Linked DNA regions of Homo sapiens: all the other regions are linked to region 3. The links are contacts of gene promoters, found by promoter capture Hi-C in blood cells and fetal thymus (Javierre and others, 2016). All regions are on one chromosome and are shown on one strand. The core of a region is centred on a gene start or on the middle of the fragment in contact, and the rest is flanking DNA. Distances in the headings are between cores, read along the strand shown.

Evidence for each region. Contacts are between HindIII fragments. The CHiCAGO score rates a contact against its expected background, and 5 or more counts as called.
Region 1: a contact is called between a fragment that was not itself captured here and the fragment with the promoter of NSUN3 in region 3, in 2 of 17 cell types (non-activated CD4 T cells and total CD4 T cells). The highest score is 8.0, in non-activated CD4 T cells.
Region 2: a contact is called between a fragment that was not itself captured here and the fragment with the promoter of NSUN3 in region 3, in 1 of 17 cell types (non-activated CD4 T cells). The highest score is 7.2, in non-activated CD4 T cells.
Region 4: the fragment with the promoter of FAIM here is called in contact with the fragment with the promoter of NSUN3 in region 3 in 2 of 17 cell types (total CD8 T cells and naive CD8 T cells); the score reaches 6.7 in total CD8 T cells.
Region 5: a fragment that was not itself captured here is called in contact with the fragment with the promoter of NSUN3 in region 3 in 1 of 17 cell types (total B cells); the score reaches 5.2 in total B cells.
Region 6: a contact is called between a fragment that was not itself captured here and the fragment with the promoter of NSUN3 in region 3, in 1 of 17 cell types (total B cells). The highest score is 5.1, in total B cells.
Region 7: the fragment with the promoter of STAG1 here is called in contact with the fragment with the promoter of NSUN3 in region 3 in 4 of 17 cell types (non-activated CD4 T cells, naive CD8 T cells, total B cells and 1 more); the score reaches 20.5 in non-activated CD4 T cells.

Annotation. Positions count from the first base shown.
Region 1 is chr3:143,976,044-143,978,743 of GRCh38, reverse strand. The region is part of intron 1 of DIPK2A (divergent protein kinase domain 2A); the gene reads right to left. Among named protein-coding and RNA genes, the nearest start is that of DIPK2A, 5.6 kb to the right of the region's middle. The HindIII fragment of the contact is 1,255 bases long and covers 674-1,928 here.
Region 2 is chr3:138,582,401-138,585,100 of GRCh38, reverse strand. The region is part of intron 2 of CEP70 (centrosomal protein 70); the gene reads left to right. Among named protein-coding and RNA genes, the nearest start is that of CEP70, 11 kb to the left of the region's middle. The HindIII fragment of the contact is 4,704 bases long and covers 1-2,700 here.
Region 3 is chr3:94,061,617-94,064,316 of GRCh38, reverse strand. NSUN3 (NOP2/Sun RNA methyltransferase 3) reads right to left here and starts at 1,256. Exons shown (of 6, transcript NM_022072.5): 1 at 1,179-1,256. The coding sequence starts at 1,190. It overlaps DHFR2 (dihydrofolate reductase 2), which reads left to right and starts at 1,401. Exons shown (of 2, transcript NM_176815.5): 1 at 1,401-1,571. RefSeq lists an enhancer at 1,123-1,362. The HindIII fragment of the contact is 2,538 bases long and covers 1-2,396 here.
Region 4 is chr3:138,607,384-138,610,083 of GRCh38, reverse strand. It overlaps FAIM (Fas apoptotic inhibitory molecule), which reads right to left and starts at 1,313. Exons shown (of 6, transcript NM_001033031.2): 1 at 1,147-1,313. RefSeq lists an enhancer at 576-665 and a silencer at 766-1,225. The HindIII fragment of the contact is 4,797 bases long and covers 1-2,700 here.
Region 5 is chr3:141,231,045-141,233,744 of GRCh38, reverse strand. PXYLP1 (2-phosphoxylose phosphatase 1) reads right to left here and starts at 1,920. Exons shown (of 6, transcript NM_001037172.3): 1 at 1,834-1,920. RefSeq lists a silencer at 1,802-2,181. The HindIII fragment of the contact is 5,995 bases long and covers 1-2,700 here.
Region 6 is chr3:139,392,600-139,395,299 of GRCh38, reverse strand. All of the region lies in intron 1 of COPB2-DT (COPB2 divergent transcript), which reads right to left. Among named protein-coding and RNA genes, the nearest start is that of COPB2-DT, 4.1 kb to the right of the region's middle. The HindIII fragment of the contact is 2,123 bases long and covers 279-2,401 here.
Region 7 is chr3:136,750,959-136,753,658 of GRCh38, reverse strand. It overlaps STAG1 (STAG1 cohesin complex component), which reads left to right and starts at 1,281. Exons shown (of 34, transcript NM_005862.3): 1 at 1,281-1,464. STAG1-DT (STAG1 divergent transcript) reads right to left here and starts at 988. Exons shown (of 1, transcript NR_185911.1): 1 at 1-988. RefSeq lists enhancers at 1-904, 698-1,017, 905-1,836 and silencers at 1,028-1,257, 1,578-1,957. The HindIII fragment of the contact is 7,208 bases long and covers 1-2,700 here.

The DNA of each region.
Region 1 (2,700 bases), core at 52-2,551, about 50 Mb before region 3:
TCAATATACAATGAGATGTCCCTCCCTGAGTCATGTGACAGTATATATATATATATATATAGATATATATATATCTATATATAGATATATATATATATATATAGATATATATATATATATAGATATAGATATATATATATAGATAGATAGATAGATATAGATACCTTTTGTACAGGGCTTATTAAATGGATTGTATAATAATTAGTTATTTGTGTACCTACCTCCTACATAGTAAGCTACTTGTTTCCTACGGCCATCTTTCCATCCTTTCAATCCAAATGCCTTGTAACAGATTGTAAAATGAACAGACAAATTCAGTTCTTTTGGTTATAAATTCAAAGAGCTCTCAAGAATTTCACAGACAACTTCCTATCACCTTATACTAACCTCACCTTACACTAATAATTTTCAGTCATGTTACAACCATTTACTAAAGTTCATCAAATGTATTAGAAAAATGCAGGATTTAAATTATAAGGCCATAATTTAACATATGGGTAATGAGTGAAAGCTGAAGAAAGAAAAAAATAGCATTCTGTGAAGAGTCAGCAGCAATGACAGAAAAATAGGAAGTAAGCCAGAGCCCACAAACCAAAAAAACAGAATAAAAACCAGTCTGACAATCCCCTGAGAAGCTGGACACCCATGTCCAGAAGACCTATAAAAACAAGCTTTCTATTTCCCAACATGTGTGAGAATATGTGCTAACCTATGCAATGGAAATATAAAGAATAGTTCAAAGACTAGACAAAAGTATACAAAGGACAAAATTCAAAATGGTCAAAAGATATGGATATGTCCAGAAACTAGTCCAGGATGTCAAATGACTTTGCTCTACTGATTCTGAAGTGATGCTTTCTTAAGGGCGATTGTCTGTTTCTAGGGTCTTTCTAAAATAAAAGTCCCCACCCCCTTTTTGGACTTGAGGTATCCAAAATTGTTTTATTATTTTTGTTTGATTATCTTGAAGAGCAATCAAAAGTGTCAATGGACTCTCAGATGAAAAGCCACAAAAAGTTCAAAAACTTACAAAATTTATTAGATTAAAAACTGCTCTACTAAGAACCATCTCTAATGTGTTCTGAAGCCGAAATCTAGGAAGACAGTTACTAAAGAAACAGCCAGTAAAGGAGAAGTAGGTGGTTCCTTAAACTGTTGTTTGAAAAGAAACTCCTGAAACAAAGTCTGGAACATCGTTTTGCACACTATTGCCTCACAAGATCCTTGGCTACCCTTAACTCCACATATTTCCCCTTAAAGGAAGGTTTTGGTTTTTGTTTTATTTCATGTGTGTAAAAATTTGGGGGTAGGAAGAAAGGCTTGAAAGAGAGCATCCCACTCCCAATCCCCTTTCAGAAGAGCTTAATTAAACCCACTCGTTAAAGTTCAAAAGAAAACAACAACAACAACAACAACAATAAAAACCAAATTTCTCAAGAGTTTGAAAGCCCCAGAATGTTGGAGCTGAAAAGGATCTAATCCAATAGCTTCATTTTATAAAGAAGGAAGTGAGTCCAATAGTAAAAATCTATCAACTTTTCTAAAGTACCGTTAGCTAAATAATCTTTTGTTTACTTCAAAAACTACATTTTCACCAGTGAACTTAAAAAATATGTTGTTCCCTATATAAATTACTTTTAAAGGCAAAAACAACATTCACTGAAAGTTTTCTACAAAAAATTATATCAAAGTAATAATGGAAAAAAATCAGTATAACTAAAGTATGGTTGATATTCAAAATCACCATTATTTTTAAGGTGATCCATACCCCAAATGAGCTTCAAAACAGCTGATCAAATGCACCAGGCAGTTAAAGTTACCTTTACTTTATTCAATATCTAACATTTATTGAATGCTTACAATTTACCAGATACTACGTGAAGTGCTTTGCATGTATTATATCATTTATAAGAATAGAAAAGCAAGCTTAAAAACCATAGCTTAATGATAGTCATATACTATAAAAATAAAGTAAATCCTATTAAAACCATGATTCAGAAAATTTAAGGCAAATGAAGTTCCACAAATAGTAACATTCCCAGCTCGTCCCCCTAAACAACAAAGAGCTTTCTCCATTTCCTACAAACAAGACCATCTTCACTACTTCCAGGTTATAAAGTCAGAGATTCTGTCTGAACTTCAACAAATCCAGACAGCATCTCTCTCTCTCTCTCTCTCTCTCTCTCTCACACACACACACACACACACACACTCTCCCTTTCTGTAAATTCAATAGGTTAAATACAAATACGATGGAAAATTTATCAACAATAACTTGTGATCTTGCCAATTACTTCAACAACTCAATTTTTGAATACTTCAAGATTCCTATTTACACAATATAAAAGTCAACATAGTTCCTCTCCTCCATTTTTTTTTTCATAGGATTACAGTATACCTGGCACTAAAATACACACATCTTAGTGAAGTAAAAATGTGACGACGAGGAAAGGGTATCAGAGTAGAAGATAAAGGTACTACTAGCATTATCTTGTTGCTTGATGTTTATAAACATTTTTTAGAAGATAATAATTCTATGGGTAAACTGTTGTAAACTAGTGAAACTATCCAACAATAAGAAGAAAGCCATACTCTCATGCCATTTCATATGGGGAAATTTATATCACAAATCTTTACAGCCTTACATAGATAAGGTATGTGTGTAAACATCTTAGACACTTAATGTCTTTCACCTCTCCT
Region 2 (2,700 bases), core at 155-2,654, about 45 Mb before region 3:
TTGATTTCAAATTTTGATGGCCTTTTTTTCCTTTCTCATGTCTAACTGCTAGCTAGAGCAATTCCAGTCCTTTTTCATCTCTAGCTAGAGCAATTCTAGTCCTAACTACAGCAATTCCAGTCCTTTTTCATCTCTGATTTTATTTGAATCTTTTTTCCTTTCTTCCTTCATAGTCTGGCTAAAGGTTTGTCAATTTTTTATCCTTGTTCTGTTCTAGATCTTAGAGGAAAGGCTTTCAGTTTTTCCCGATTCAGTGTGATACTGCCTGTGGGTCTGTCATACATGGCTTTTATTATGTGGAGGTATGTTCCTTTTATACCTAGTTTTTTTAGGGTTTTTTTTTTAAATCATGAAGGAATGTTGAATTTTATCAAGTGCTTTTTCAGTATCAGTTGAAACGATCATATGGTTTTTGTCTTTCAGTCTGTTGATAATGATGTATCACATTGATTGATTTGCATATGTTGAATCATCCTTTCATCCCTGGGATAAATCCCACTTGTTGATGATGAATGATCTTTTTAATGTGTTGTTGAATTTGGTTTGCTAGTATTTTGTTGAAGATTTTTGCATCAATATTAATCAGGGATATTGGCCTGTAGGTTTTTCTCTCTCTCTCTCTTTTTTTTTTTTTTTTTTGATATGTCTTTGTCTGGTTTTGGTATCAGGGTAATACTGGCCTCATAGAATGAGTTTGGATGTATTCCCTCCTCTTCCATTCTTCAGAATAGTTTGAGTAGGGTTGGTGTTAATTCTTTAAATGTTTGGTAGAATTCAGCAGTGAAGCCATGGAGTCCGAGGCTTTTCTTTGCTGGAGGACTTTTTATTATAGCTTCAATGTTGTTAGTTGTTATTGGTCTGTTCAGGTTTTGGATTTCTTTATGGTTCAATCTTAGTAGGTTGTTTGTGTCTAGGAATTTATCCATTTCTTCTAGATTTTCTAGTTTATTGGTATATAGTTGCTCCTAGTAGGCTCTAATGATCCTTTGTATTTCTGCAGTATTGGTTGTAATGTCTCCTTTTTCATCTCTGATTTTGAATCTTTTCTCTTTTTTCTTCATTAGTCTGGCTAAGGGTTTATCAGTTTTCTACATCTTTTCAAAAAACCAACTTTTTGTTTTATTGTTCTTATGTCTTATTTGTTTCAATTTCATTATTTCTGCTGTAATCTTTATTATTTCTTCTACTTTCAGTTTGGTTTGCTCTGCTTTTCTAGTTCTAGTTCATTAGGTTGTTTATTTGAAGTTTTTCTTTTCATGTAGGCACTTAAAGCTATAAATTTCTCTCAGTACTGTTTTCACTGTATCCCATAGGTTTTGGTATGTTCTGTTTCCATTATCATTTGTTTCAAGACATTTTTCAGTTTCCTTCTTAATCTCTTCATTGACCCACTGATGATTCAGGAGCCTATTGATTAATTTTCATATGTTTGAATAGTTTCCAAAATTCCTCCTGTTAACTGATTTCTAGTTTTATTCCATTGTGGTCAGAGAAGATACTTTATATTATTCCAGTTTGTTTTTAATGTTTTAACACTTGTTTTGTGGCCTAACATATGGTCCATCCTTGGGAATGATCCATGTGCTGAGGAGAAGAATGTGTATTCTTCAGCCATTGGATGAAACGTCTGTAAATATCTGTTAGGTCCATTTGTTCTATAGTGCAGATTAAGTCAGATGATTCTTTGTTGATTTTATGTCTGGATGATCTGTCTGATGAAAGGGTGGTGTTGAAGTCTTCAACTATTATTGAATTGAGATTTATCTCTCGAGCTCTAATAATATTTGCTTTATATATCAGGGTACTCCAATGTTGGGTGTATAATATTTACAATTGTTACATACTCTTGCTGAATTGACCTGTTTATCATTATATAATGACCTTGTTTGTCTCTTCTTACAGTTTTTGTCTTAAAATCTCTTTTGTCTGATATAAGTATAGCTACTCCTGCTATACTGGATTCATTGGCATGTAATATCCTTTTCCATTTCTTAATTTTCAGTCTATATGTGTCTTTATAGGTGAAGTGTATTTCAGTTCGGCCACTCTAGTGTTTTGATTGTGAGTTTAGTCCATTTATGTTCAATGTTATTGACAAATAGGGACTTACTACTGTCATTTTGTTGTTTTCTGGTTGTTTTGTGGTCTTCTCTTCTTTTTTCCTTCTTTCCTATCTTTTTTTAGTGAAGGTGATTTTTCTTAGGTGGTATGTTTTAATTTCTTGCTTCTTATTTTTTGTGTATCCATTGTATGTTTTTGGATGTAAGGTCACCATGAGGCTTGAAAATACTATCTTATAATCCATTATCTTATTTATTTATTTATTTTTATTTTTTTGAGATGGAGTCTAGTTCTGTCACCCAGGCTGGAGTGCAGTGGCATGATTATGGCTCACTGAAACCTCTGGCTTCTGAGTTCAAGTGATTCTCCTGCCTCAGCCTCCCGAGTAGCTGGGACTACAGGCACACGCCACCAGAGAATTTTTGTATTTTTAGTAGAGATGGGGTTTCACTATGTTGGCCAGGCTGATCTTGAACATGACCTTGTGATCTGCCCGCCTCAGCCTCCCAAAGTGCTGGGATTAAAGGCCACCATGCCTGGCTCATTATTTTTTATTTTTTAATTTTTTGAGATGGAGTCTCGCTCTGTCACCCAGGCTGGAGTTCAGTGGCGCTATCTTGGCTCACTGCAGCCTCCACC
Region 3 (2,700 bases), core at 7-2,506:
AATGGAAGCAATACCTTACATGTACCAAAACTGTACATTATCTAATTATGAAAAAGCAAGGTTTTTCCAAATAATTATTTTCCAAATGTGAAGCAAAGGTTAAAACAGAATCTACTGGGGCTGAAGAAACTGTCAAAAGGAACAAAATTAATTTTAAAAAGTCACTGTAGGGGCTAGGCAGGTGGCTCACACCTGTAATCCCAGCACTGTGGGAGGCAGAGGCGGGAGGATCACATGAGGTCTGGAGTTCAAGACCAGGTTGGCCAACACGGGAAACCCGTCTCTACTAAAAATACAAAAATTAGCCGAGAGTAGTGGTGGGCGCCTGTAACCCCACCTACTCAGGGGGCTGAGGTGGGAGAATCGCTTGAACTCAGGAGGTGGAGGTTGCAGTGAGCCGAGATCGCGCCACTGTACTCCAGCTGGCTCATGCTTTGCAGGGACGAGGCGAGAGGATCATTTCCCAGTTCAAGACCAGACTGGAAAACATATCAAGGACGTGTCTCTACAAAAAGTAAAAAAAAAAAAAAAATTAGCCAGGCGTAGTGGCCTGCTCCTGTAGTCCTAGCTACTAGGGAGGCTGAGGCTGGAGGATCGCTTGAACCCAGGAGTTCAAGGTTACAGTGAGCTATGATGGAGCAGCTGCATTCCAGATTGGGTGACAGAGCAAGAACTTGTATCTAAACAAAACTAAAAAGTCACCGGGGATGCTGACATCAAGAAAAATTGGTGAAAGGTATTTGAGAACTCTGTACTATCTTTGCAACGTTATTTTAAAGTGAAAAGTTAATTTAGGGAGAAAAGTCACTCCAATTTCATCGTGAACTTCCTTGCAATTGTTTCATTTATTCATCCAAGAAACGTGTATTCAATGCCTACTATGTAACAGACACTGTTCTAAGCTCCCGGGATACCGCTGTGACACAGAAAACAAATCTCAGCCCTCCAAGAGCTGGAGGGAGTGGGTACTAGAAGTCTGCGAGCTGGACGGAAGGGACTCAGCATTACAGCACTCAGCATTATTTCAGGGCTTGACAGTAAAGCCAAAGAAACGCTGATCTCGCGAGGGGACGAACAAAGGTGATGTTCCCCCATCCCAGCACCCTCCCTCGCCACCTCGGCCGCGTCCAGAAGCGTCTCATTCAGATAGAGGTACCCAGCCGGGCCCCAGGTCTCACCTGGGTCAGCATTGTCCCGCTGAGAGCTTTCAAACAACAGGTGTACGCGAATCAGTATCAAAAAGCCTCCAGGGAACTGAAAAAAACAGTCTGACTTCCGGGATTCGCGGGCATCCACTTTCATTCTCACGTTTCCTCTTCAATTTCTCGCGAGATACTGATTTGCTCGCGCTATAGAATTCTTGTCGAAGAGGCTTAGCTCCCGCGGGAGATTTCGTGCGCAGTTACTTCCGGTAGCTGGTAAAGGCTGATACTTCCCAGGACGCGGAGGTAACGGGCCAGGGCCAAAGCGACTTTCGCTACTTGGATTGGTCGGCGTAGCTTTGGGCGGCCGGACCTTAGAAAGTCACACATCTGCGCGCCTGTGCGGCCCCTGCTTCTGCGGATGCTGAGGTGGGAGGATCGCTTGGGCAGAAGTTTGAGGTTGCAGTGACCCGTGATCGCGCCACTGCACTGCAGCGTGGGCGACAGAGCGAGGCTTTGTCTCAAAAATAAATAAAAAGTCGCATATTGTGCTGAACAGTGTGTATATGCATGGGGCTCAATAAAGGAATGAGTTTTGGGGTTATGTTGTATGATGACTGATTTAAAATATTCTCAAAGCGAAGCTAGTTACTGACTTAATCTACCAAATCTAGTGACCCCTGTTAACCTAGACATTCAGTACCCAAGGATAAAAGGGTGGAATATAATGAAAAAGAAATTAAGTCATGCTTTTCCCCAGACCTGGCCCATGGGGATAATCTCTCCTTTTAATGGAGAGTGTTAAACTGAAGTAGGCATGTAAAGCGGTTACAACAGTGATTAGGAAACAGTAAATGCCCAAATGTTAGCTGCTATTATTTTCACTATTGTGATCATTGTGATTTTTGTCGCGTTGATACCAAATGCGTGAAGACCAAAAGGACCCTCCACTCTAGCCTCCCCAATTCACCTTTACAAGGGAGCAATGTTTAATGGTTCTCCAAGGAAGATGTTTATTACACCTATTTTGACACGAATAGAAGTTTATTTGCTCTTTTGGTGTCATGCTTCAGTAACTATCATTTGTAGCAGCAATCAGCAATTAGAAAAAACCGGTTTGATATGGTCCCTGATAGTTAATAATCATCATTTTGAGTTGTTCCTTGATGCTCATATCAATATACGTACATGCTATAGGTACAAGTCTTATATTCATGTAAAAACATGTCTTTCCTTCTAATCTGATTTGAAGCTTAATATATTTATTTATTTAAACAAGTTTCCAAGTCACCTAAAAAATGCATCTTATTAGAATTTAGATTTGGTACAAAAGACTATGATAATCAGGAATGAAATGATGCCATCTCTTGGATGCCGTCTGTTTAATGTTTGTGGAAAAGTCGGTCTAACCTTTCAGCCTCTGTATTTTTTATAATTTTATAAATTTATATTTTATAAATATTTTATAAATTTATACTTTATAAATATATTTTATATAATTTATTTTTCTATGTTCATTCCAGAATGTTGCAATTAATTAATACAGTGGTATTGTATT
Region 4 (2,700 bases), core at 64-2,563, about 45 Mb before region 3:
CCAATAATGCAAGTCACACTCAAGTGTTGACATCTTCATCTCCGGGCCGGCCCCTTATGAAGTGAGGGGGGTCTCCAGTAAAATCACTCAGGAAGCTCCTCGAGCCAAGTATTCCCAAATGCTACTTACTGGAGGTACAAAAAGGAGAATAACTTTTCTGAGGGCCATTTCACAATCTATACCAGAAGCCTTGTGGTATAGACCGTGGATTCTATCTTGTTTTAGAACGAATCTTGTGCGATTCTTTCTACAGAAATGATCACGCTCAAAAACCCAGATACAACGATGCTCAATGAATTACTTTTTGCAATAACTAAAAACTGAAAACCACTTGTACGCTCACCATCAGGGAGAAACTACATTTAGTAAATCACAGTCCAAAGCCATGCCAAGAGTCAGGGATGGATGAGGTAGTCAACCTGACACACAGGAATGTACAGTCGAGAGAGAGAGAGAGAGAGAGAGAGAGTCGAGAGAGAGAGAGAGAGAGTCGAGAGAGAGAGAGTCGAGAGAGAGAGAGAGAGAGAGAGAGAGAGAGAGAGAGAGAGAGTTTCAGCACTTTATGATGCAGGTTCTGCAAAAACAAGCCCCGCTCATGTTACAAGGAAAAACCATCTGGAAGAATATACACCCTCATGTTAACGCAGCTTGTCTCTGGGGAGCAGCGGCACGGCTGCTTTGCTTGCTTCCTTGCTTTCTGTTCCACGTTTTCGACAGTGAGAAGTATTATCTTTAGAGGTCGCGAACAGGCCGGAGGAGGGTGCGGCAGGTCGCGGGGCAGGGCCTCGCTAGGCAGGGACGCCCCCGCACCGCCCCGGGCTGGCCCCGCGCCCCGCGCCCCGCCGCACCTCCACCTTTGCCGGCGGTGAGCGGGAGCCGCGTCCCGCCCCGAGGTCTGGGATCACCGGCGGGCCGGCTGGAAGCGTCCGGAACTCACCCAGCGTCTCACCCGCGCGGGTCTCACCGACCGCGCAAACACCGCCCGCCGCCGCCGCCCAGAGATGGCCGCCGCCGGCGCAGCAGGGCCGAGAGCGTGGGGACGCCGGGGGGCTGAGTGCAGGGGTTTCCAGGGTGCGGAGCGGGCGGGCCCGAGGCGTCCGGGCGGGCGCAGGCGCGACACCGACCCCACCCGGTCTGCTGCCTCACCTGTGCTCTGTGGGCCGCGGGAGGCTCTGGGGTAGGTTTCACCAAACAACCGGTTGGTTCCGACTCGGCTGCGTAGGCCGCGTGGCCTTGCTCCCCTGGCCGAGAAACAGGCGCAGCCGGCGCGGAGGTTGAAAGCTCTGCAGGCGCGAGTACCAAACGCGCCGACTGTTTGTCGCGCCTCTCAGGTCCCCTGGGGCGACCAGCGCAGGAGGCCACCCCTCCCGCCGCCACGGACCCAACCCTGGTCCTCTGCCTTAGCCGAAGGCCGCACCCTCCGCGCATAGGCCTTCCTCAGCCCCAACCCAGGACATCACCATGTCCCGCAGTGCGTCCAGTCTTCCTGCCAGCAAGTGTGGGTAGGAGCCGGCCGCTGGCCCCGCTCTGGGCTAGACGGTGGGGACATACTGGCGGGCAAAAACAGCCCTGTGCCTGCTCTGCAGCTATGGGGAAGGAATATCTGTTCATGGCAGCAATAGCATTCGCTCCTTAAAACCTCTTTATGAGTCTCATTCCTTTTTTAAAGACCCAAACTACTTAAGGTGGGCATGAAGCCCCCATGTGTGATCTAGCCTCTGCCTGCTTGGCTTCATTTAGGTCCTTAAAGGATGCAGGTTTCTTCTCGCCCAGGGCCTCTGCAAATGCTCTTCTCTCTGCCTGGACACTCCTCACCTCTTCCCTATTGTGAGAGTTCTTCATATATCATTTCTTAGATTACACTATCCTGGCCCATAAGACTTGCAGCATTGCTGGGTGTGGTGGCTCATACCTGTAATCACGGCATTTTGGGAGGCAGAGTGGCGGATCTCTTGAGTCCAGGAGTTCAAGACCAGCCTGGGCAACATGGTAAAAAAAAAAAAAAAGAGAGAGAGAGAATGAGAAAGAAGAAAAGAAAATAATTAGCGGCTCAGGCCTGTAATCCTAGCTACTTGGGACGCTGAGGTGGGAGAATTGCTTGGGCCCTGAAGGGAGGTAGAGGCTGCAGAGAGCTGTGATTGCACCACTACACTCCAGCCTGGGCAACAGAGCGAGACCCTGTTTCATTAAAAAAAACACACACAAAAAGAAACAGCCGGGCTCAGTGGCTCACGCCTGTAATCCCAGCACTTTGGGATGCTGAGGCAGGCATGGCAAAACCCCGTCACTACTGAAAATATAAAACTTAGAGGGGCGTGGTGGTGCATGCCTGTAGTCCCAACTACTTGGGAGGCTGAGGCAGGAGAATCGCTTCAACCTGGGAGGTGGAGGTTGGAGTGAGCTGAGATTGAGCCACTGCACTCCAGCCTGGGCGAAGAGCAAGACTCTGTCTCAAAAAAAAAAAAAAAAAAAAACAGCCGGGCACAGTGGCTTACACCTGTAATCCCAGCACTCTGGGAGGCCAGGTGCGGATTGCCTGAGGTCAGAAGTTTGAGACCAGCCTGGCCAACGTGGTGAAACCCTAGCTCTACTAAAAATACAAAAATTAGCCGGGCGTGGTGGCATGCGTCTGTAATCCCAGCTACTCAGGAGGCTGAGGCAGGAGAATCACTTGACCTTGGGAGGTGGCAGTTGCAGCGA
Region 5 (2,700 bases), core at 42-2,541, about 47 Mb before region 3:
TCGGAGTGCTGTGCTCCAAAGGCCAGGTGGCCCACGCTGTTCCTGGTGCCCAAACGCAGCCTCCCAAGGCATCAGTGAGGATGGGCTGGCCAGGAGCCAATCCCTAACAGAGAAGTTCCCCCTACACATCCTTTCTCTGAGATAAGCAATTAATTTAATCCAAGACTTAATGAAAGCCAGGAGAAGGGATGGGGCAGATTCATACACTGGCTTTCAGGCTGTCCCGTGCATCTTCACCTCTCTCCAGGGACCACGAGGGTTTTTTTTTTTTTTTTTTTTTTGACAGGGTTTTGCTCTTATTGCCCAAGCTGGAGTGCAATGGCGCAATCTCAGCTCACTGCAACCTCTGCCTCCCAGGTGCAAGCGATTCTCCTGTCTCAGCCTCCTGAGTAGCTGGGATTACAGGTATGCACCACCACGCCTGGCTAATTTTGTATTTTTAGTAGAGACGGGGTTTTTATGTTGGTCAGGCTAGTCTCGAACTCCCGACCTCTGGTGATCCGCCCGCCTCGGCCTCCCAAAGTGCTGGGATTACAGGCGTGAGCCACCGCGCCCGAGGCCTTTTGATCCATCTGCTATAAATCCCCTTCCCACAGATGTCCCGATTGGGCACCAACACCTCTGAGGAGGGTAAGTTACTGCCAAGCCCGACCGCAGTCGCATCCCGTTTGAAAGGGTGGGCTCCGCACTGCCAGCTTCACACCCACGGGCCTTCTGCAAATATCAACAAACGGCTCCATTTGTGGAGCACTCTCCGATCCCCCATCCACCCCCCTACACTTCCCCATTCACAGCTCGATCTGATTCCCCATCTCTCCTGATTTTACTTGTTGAATGCTTACAAAGGATCCTTGCCTTTCCACAAAGACACTGGCTAGCCAGGCGGTGATAACCTCACTCACTACAGAGCCCCCTCGCAATCGCTGAACTCACAGCCGAAGCGGGAAAATATGGCTCCACGTCCTGCACCGTGAATCCTTTACCATCCACAGGTACAATTTAAAAGGCAGCTGCGGCTGCAAAGCAGGCAACCTACCCTAAGCAAATCCATTCTCTCTCTCTCTGTGTGTGTGTGTGTGACAAACCCAGCTTATTTAAAAGATCAGGACATAGGCAAGTTCACCAGCAAAAGCAACGTCGTGGGTCTACACCACACGGTCCTAACCTGCGCATCCAGGAATGTTAACCTGCGCTCGGGCGGCCCCGTGGCCAGGCCCGGGACTCCCGGAGGCGTCAGGCTGCAGGTGGCTGCCAAGAGGAGCCAGCCCCGTCTCCGGGAAAGGCCGCGAAGTTGCGGCCGCCTCCTTACCTGGAGACTAGCCGGCTCAGGACCGCCCGGGAAGGGGGATCCCGGGAGCTTGAATCTCGGCTGGAATCCAGCGGCGGGAGTGCGGGGGCCGTGCGGGAGAGGGCTGGAAGGGCGGGGGCGAGGTGGAGGCGGGCTCCGCGGGAGAGTGCGGGGCTGCGGGGGGCGAGGGCTTGGAGACAGAGCCGGGGGTTCGCAGCGGGCGTGAGACGGCGCCAGCTCTGGGAGAAGGGGGCTATGGGGCGGGCGCCGGGGCTGGGACACCGGGCGCACGGGGGGAGTGGCAGGAAAGAGGGCGCAAGTCCTAGGCTCAGGGGCGAGCGCGGGGATAAAGGAGGAGGCTTAGTCGCGGGATTCGGACCCGACGCTTCGAAGCGCCCCCAGCCTTCCCGCCCCTCTCCCACTGGCGAGTTAGGGGGACCCCCTCAGTCTCCCAACCTCGGACCCTGGACGCCCACCCGCCTAGAACCTCTGCGCTGCTCGGCCCCAACGGCAACCGCCCCGGCCCAGGCCCGCGCCGCACTCACCGCCCATGGTCCCAGGCCGGCCCCAGCTCCGTCGCTGCGCGCCCGGCTCGGCGCTCGCCGCCAGCTCCTCCCGGCGCGAGGGGAGGCGAGGGCGGCGCGCACCCGCCACCGGGGAGCTCGCGGGGCCCGGCAGCGCCCCCTGCCGACCCCGCCGCGCCCCGTCTCAGTTCGGCCGGCCCTGCACCAGGAGCCCTGGAGCTCCGCCCCGGAGGCGGTGTTGCGGTGCGGCTGGGCGGGGGCGACCGCGCGGGGTTGCTGAGAGGACACTGCCTCTGGGAGGCCCAGCACAGCCCGGAGAGACTGGTCAGTCTGCAGAGCCCTCGGCGTGCAAAGCCACGGGCACGGACAAGCCGAGCGCGCAGGGACCACGACCACAGACGCGCAGGGCTCTCGCGTGCCTCACAACTCCTGACCTGCGATCAGGGACTGCGCGGAGGCGCGCCAAGGCCCAGGAACACAGCCCTGGCCGGCCCGGGCCCTAGTGTGGGTGCTTTGGGGCCATGTGCCTGCCCTGGCGCCGCTGATGCTATCGCCGGGTGGGCGCGCGCGTCTGGGGTGCGCCTGCTGCCACGTAGACCCAAACTGTCACCCCCCACCCCCCACCCCTTTCGGCCTATCCCACACTCCTCTTCCGGCTCAGAACACATCCGGCCTTGTGTTGCTCTAGTCCTCGCTGCTGCTCCGTCTCCAACGGTCTGCAGAGACCCGGGGAGGTCGTGGCCCCGCGCAGTCGCCCTTCCCACCTGCTCCCGGCCCGCGGCTTCCTTGGAGCCGCTGCTGAAGATCCTCAGAGCACTTGAGGGCTGCCTGTAACGCCCCGTTAGACATCTGATAGGCGAACGGTTGTATTTGGTTTGATCAGTATTT
Region 6 (2,700 bases), core at 91-2,590, about 45 Mb before region 3:
CCCTCATGCCTACCAGCCTCCTTGTCCTGAGCCCCAGGAGCCTCAGGTTTGTAGAGCATTGTTCCAAGCACAACAAAATCTCAACAAAAATTTGCTGATGGAAGGTGGCTTCCAGAGAAAAAGAACAATGCATGCTATGAAAGATGTGGGAAACGCTACTACACTGGCACTTGAATTAAGTAAAGACAAATGCCCATTAAAACACCCTGCAGGCACTCCCCTCATCCACTTCGTTTGACAAGAACATAGAATCACAGACTCAAAAGTATAAAAAAGCTTACAACAGGAAGAGACTTTGGAGCTAATGCTGTCCATTATTATTTTGTAGGTAATAAAACTAAGACCCAGAGATTCACTTCACTTGACAACCCTGGGGCAAAGAAGTACCCAGAGCCCACTGGTCATGACTTACCATGGGGTCTGTACCCCATGAGTGAAGAGTGGGGTAGAGAACGAATCCGCAGATGGAGAACTGTGGAGATCACTAACAAACTCCCCAGTCTACTGCCATATTTACAATGTCTAGCAATTCCCATCTATGAAATCACCTCCTTTGTTTCATTCAAAGCTCACTTTAAACTTTGACTCCTCTAAAAATACTCATTAGAAAAACATAAGGTTAATGTAATTTTTAAGGTAAAATTAACACAAGTCAAACACATTACTAATAATCTGGATTTTTACACTTTCAGGTAAACAAAAGTTAGCATCCTCTGCATCTGGAATTCTACATCAAACTCCCATGGAGTAAATTTAACAAATTTAAAATGTTTAGAAGGTAGTCACATGAAGTGTACAGCACATTGTGGTTGGTCAATGCTTTTGCAATCAGTCCAACATTTGCCTCTAAGTGTTGGGCAACCACAAACTCCATTTTTCTTGGAAGACAGTTCAGTGGATCTCCAACTCAATTTAGTCTGCTGCTGGCTGCTACTTGACTATGTGGTCAAAACTTTTGCTTTCATTCACCTCATACAGAAATCAGGCTGATAATCTTAACATTTCCTCTAACAGGAAAAGTAACTGACATGTGATGATGTATCAGTAATGGAGCATGAAGATTACCCTACTTAACATTCTTAAATGGTTCCCCAGAGCCTACAGGATAAAGTCCAGACTCCTTTAACTGGCTATCATGGATCTTCAGAATCTGAATCTCATTTATCTTTCTAATACCATTTCTCAATCCTCCCCCTTCTTACTCTCTGGCCCAGGCATGCTGAACTATTCTTAGCTCTCTGGAAAAGTCAAATGCTCTAGATATACTCTCTTGACATTTACCTGGCTAGTTCCTACTCACACTACAAAGGTCCATTTAGTGGCCTGCATCCATTTGGAGCCTATCATAATTAAATCAAGCATGCCCTAAATGCAGGAACAGTCAACCCACTTACAGTGAGACACCTCTCACATCAACATTTGCCTTTCTTCACTAATCGCTTGGTAAAATAGTTTATACTGATGACCTCTACTTTTTTTATCATCCAATAATTTCTAAACCCTTTGTAAACTTGCCTTCCCTACCATTACTCAACTTTTTTGAAGGCTGATAGTGTCCTCATAATCATTTATTTCATTGGCAATAGTTTTGGCAAATACTAAGCCTCCTTAAATTCTCTAAAGCTATCAAGATGCTAGTCACCCAGTCACATTTTCCCTTTCTTTTCCTTCTGTGACATAAAGTTATTCTGGGTCTCTTATTCTGATTGTTCCTACACTGACTCCACTTCTTTTTCTTTCACTTTTTCTTCTTTCCTGATTCTCTTTCTCTGATTGTTCCTTCATTGGCTCCACTATCATTCACTGGCTCCACATCTTCCTCTGATTAAAGATATTCTTCTGGGTTCATTAGATTAAAAACATCAGCAATAGGATGCCTCCCACTCCCTCAATTCAACAAACGCATTTGTGTATCCAGTTGATTCTAGCTTCTCAGGGAAAAAAGGAGAAATTACAATCCAGTAAAAAAAGATGTTAGTATCATTAAATATAACTTAGGTTCATATCTCAGGTCTGTCAGTCATGAGCAATGTGGCATGAGGTATACTACTTAATCAATTTAAGCCTCTGTTTTTCATCTATAAATTGGAGAAAATAATGCCTATCTTTTAGTATTACTTTATGAATTGCAGTATGCAAAGTACATATTCCAATGGCAGGTAGGTACATAGTGGGCATTTAATAAAAATTTTTCCTTATTACTGTTATTTCCACACTCACTTCCACCAAACTTATATAGTCTGTTTCAACTTCTTTTAGTGTGTCATACACATCAACAAAAGACAAATCATCTAGAGTACAGATATAAACAGGTTTCCTATCTGGCCCAGTAAGTCCCAACTGCTTGACTCAAAGCTCAATTTCTCCCGATTTAAAAATCTTCAGGTTCTAGCCCCAAGCTTCCTCTTCAACCTTCTCCCTCACTGCTCTTCTAAATGAATACCATTCTCCAAACAAATTGGACCTTTTTTGGTTCTCAAACATGCCGTATACTCTTCACCTCAAAGTCCACCTCAGATTCTACCTCCTTTATGAAACTTATCTCCCTAGCTGGATATTTTATCTTCAGAGTATTTTACTGGTACTTCTCTCAGAAGGTACTCATATTCTGCCTGGTATTCAATTATTTGTGCATAAATAACCTTTCCTGCTTATAAATTGTAACCCCTTTGAAGGGAGAAACTAGGTTCCTATTCGTGC
Region 7 (2,700 bases), core at 32-2,531, about 43 Mb before region 3:
AATTATAAGTAGGAGTCCAGTCACGAATTCATATCCAATCTGGTCAGTTATGACTTCCTCCAGCGAAAAGCCACACATCTTGCAAACCCTTGAGAGAGAAAACACAAATAGGGGTAACCTACTGGAGACAGGCCCTTAAGACTATAAAGTAGTTGAGCGATTCCATACTGAAATAGAGTTGGCTATAGCGATAGAGAAGTTAGTCATATATGGGGCTAATGATCCAGGAGAGTAAGGATTCACTTTTGTGGTGAAAAGTTGTAAGCAGGTGAAAGGTAGGGATCCATGGCCACGGACGGGCAGGTGGAGATCAGGGAAGAGGCGACGTTAAACATAAATAGTTTGTTAATGATTTCACCTTACTGATTATTTCTCTTTTGGCATCTAGAAGGCTAAGATTCTCATGTGTATTTCAGAGCTACTGAAAGTAGTCCTAGGTTGTGGAGGGAGAAATCCACTTTCACAGCTGAGTCTATCTTCTCAGTCTAGTTATATTCTCCTCTCACAAACTAGCCAATGCTGCCGCCTTATGCAAAGCCGACACCACGGAAAGATGTGCTTTACAGAGGCAGGATGACGCCAATCGGCCTAGGGCCGGCGGTGTTTCGTCTAGATTAATGGCGAGGGAAGTCCCCAATAGTCCTTTTGAAACCTTTTCACTCTTGCCTGGTGAAAGCGCTTGTCAGCCGTAAATCGCGAATACAATGCTAAGCTCTGAGGCCCTTGCTAAATCCAAGTAGGAGCAGGGATCTGCGCGGCCTCACCCTCGGGTTTCCGCAGGGCGTCTCGAGAGCTGCGGATGGGGGCAGCAGGAGCCGGGCGGGAACAGAGGAAAGCGCCGGCCCTGAGACCTAGGGAGGAGCCTCGGTGAAGGAACCCGGGGCGGGTTCCTGCCTAGATCTCCAAGAAGCTCCAAAAATGGCGGGCGGCAACTCGGCGAGCCGGACGCGCAGGCGCCACCGTGGCCGTCCTTCCGCCAGCCGCGGGCGGCCCAAGAACCGTCCACAGCGCCCTTATCCAGAAGCCTACGCCTCTCGCGATTGGCTGAACTGCGCGAGCGCTCCGTGTGGGGGCGGGGCCGCCACGCAGCGGCCACGTTTCCCGCCCCGCTGGTGCGCGTGCGCGCAATCCCCACTGGAAAGCGTTTGCGCGCGCCCCTGCCGCGGCCCCTAGCTCGCGCCTCAGCTCCCTCCCCTTTCCGGGCAGGCCCGTCCCGTCAGCAAGGCAGTGAGCACCGCGGCCAGCAGAGGGCGGTCCGGACCCAAGTCTGCAGCGGCGCCATTGGCGTGTGGAAAATGCCACCAGATGGCGGGTTAGGATTGCAGCTCCGTTGAAGGCGCGGCCCCCGCTCCCGAACCCCCGGCGACCACCCCGTAACAACCCCCCCACATCGGGAATAACACACCGGAGACTTTTGGGGGGAAACTAGGTCGATGGTCGGCGGCGCCCGGATGGGCAGCTGAGGTGAGTGCGGGCGGCGGCGACGGCGGCGGGGGGCGGGAAAGAGGGGGAATGCGGCGGCAGCGGCGCGGGGGCTGGAAGCGCCGATCCAAGATGGAGGCCGGGCGAGAGCGAGAGAGCGCGAGCGGCGAGCGGGCGGGCCGGGCGCGGGCCCCGTGCGGGGGAGGGAGGCCGCGCGGGCCTGTGCGGGGTGCGGCGGTCGTGGGCCGTCCGAGTGCCCGGAGAGACGTCTGTGGGCGCGGTGGGCACCCCGGCGTCTTCGTCGCTTGCCACCCCTCCCGCGGGCACCAAAAATTTTGCCCCCGCCCGCCCGGGCACTACGGCGACAGGCGCGGAAGCCTTTGTGGCGCGCTCGGGCCCGCCGCCAAGCCCGCCCTCCGCCCCCCCCCGCCCGGGCTCTCGGGAGTCGCCCGCGCCCAGCGGGGCCGGGCCGACGCGGGCTGGCGCGAATGCCTTCCGCCGCCTGCCGACCTGCGTTTCTGCGGTGTTTTAGCGGCGGCGGCGTCACATGACAACGAGTTCATTTCAGCGGAGGGGCCTGGGGGGTCGCTCGGCGGGGCGGCTGGCCCAGGCTTCTTGTTGGCGGGGTGGGGCAGCGGGGTGGCGGCTGGGGGAGATGCATCAATGCTGGGCTTTCCAGCTATCTGCCCTCTCAGCCCCCGACGGGGGCCTCCTTGTGAAACGTGTCCAGGCCTAAGCACTGCCCCGCTAGTTTGCCAGTCCCCTGAGAGACGAGGCCAATAAAAGTTGTTTTCCCTCCTTTCTCGAGGTGGGGGCGGGGTGGGAAACTAGAGTGCTTGGAGTTGGACCTGAGCCCCGTTTGCAGGGTCCGAACTGGGTTCTTCTTGTATGGTATGGGTACTAAGAAATTTTCAGGTTTTAGGATTGTCACGTCACCCCCATCTACCCACATTTGAAATGTTATCTGTCGATTCTCTTCACATTGCAGGGAATCGTGCTCCGGGAGTATAAGTCATAGGATAGTTTTGGACACTTACAGACAAAAAAAAAACAAAAAAAAAAAACGCAATTTGTCATAAAAAAAAATTATTTGCTGTTAAAGTTGGTGTTAAGATGGATAGAGTTTATTCTCGTGATTCTGACTAGAAAGACTTGCATCTTCGCAAAAATAGTGTTTACTTGAGAAAGTATCTGAATTGGCACAAAGTTGTGTGATTTGTAACTTATCTGGAATTTGAATGACTCTACATTTTAGTTTTCCTCGTGTTTTAAGAAAAT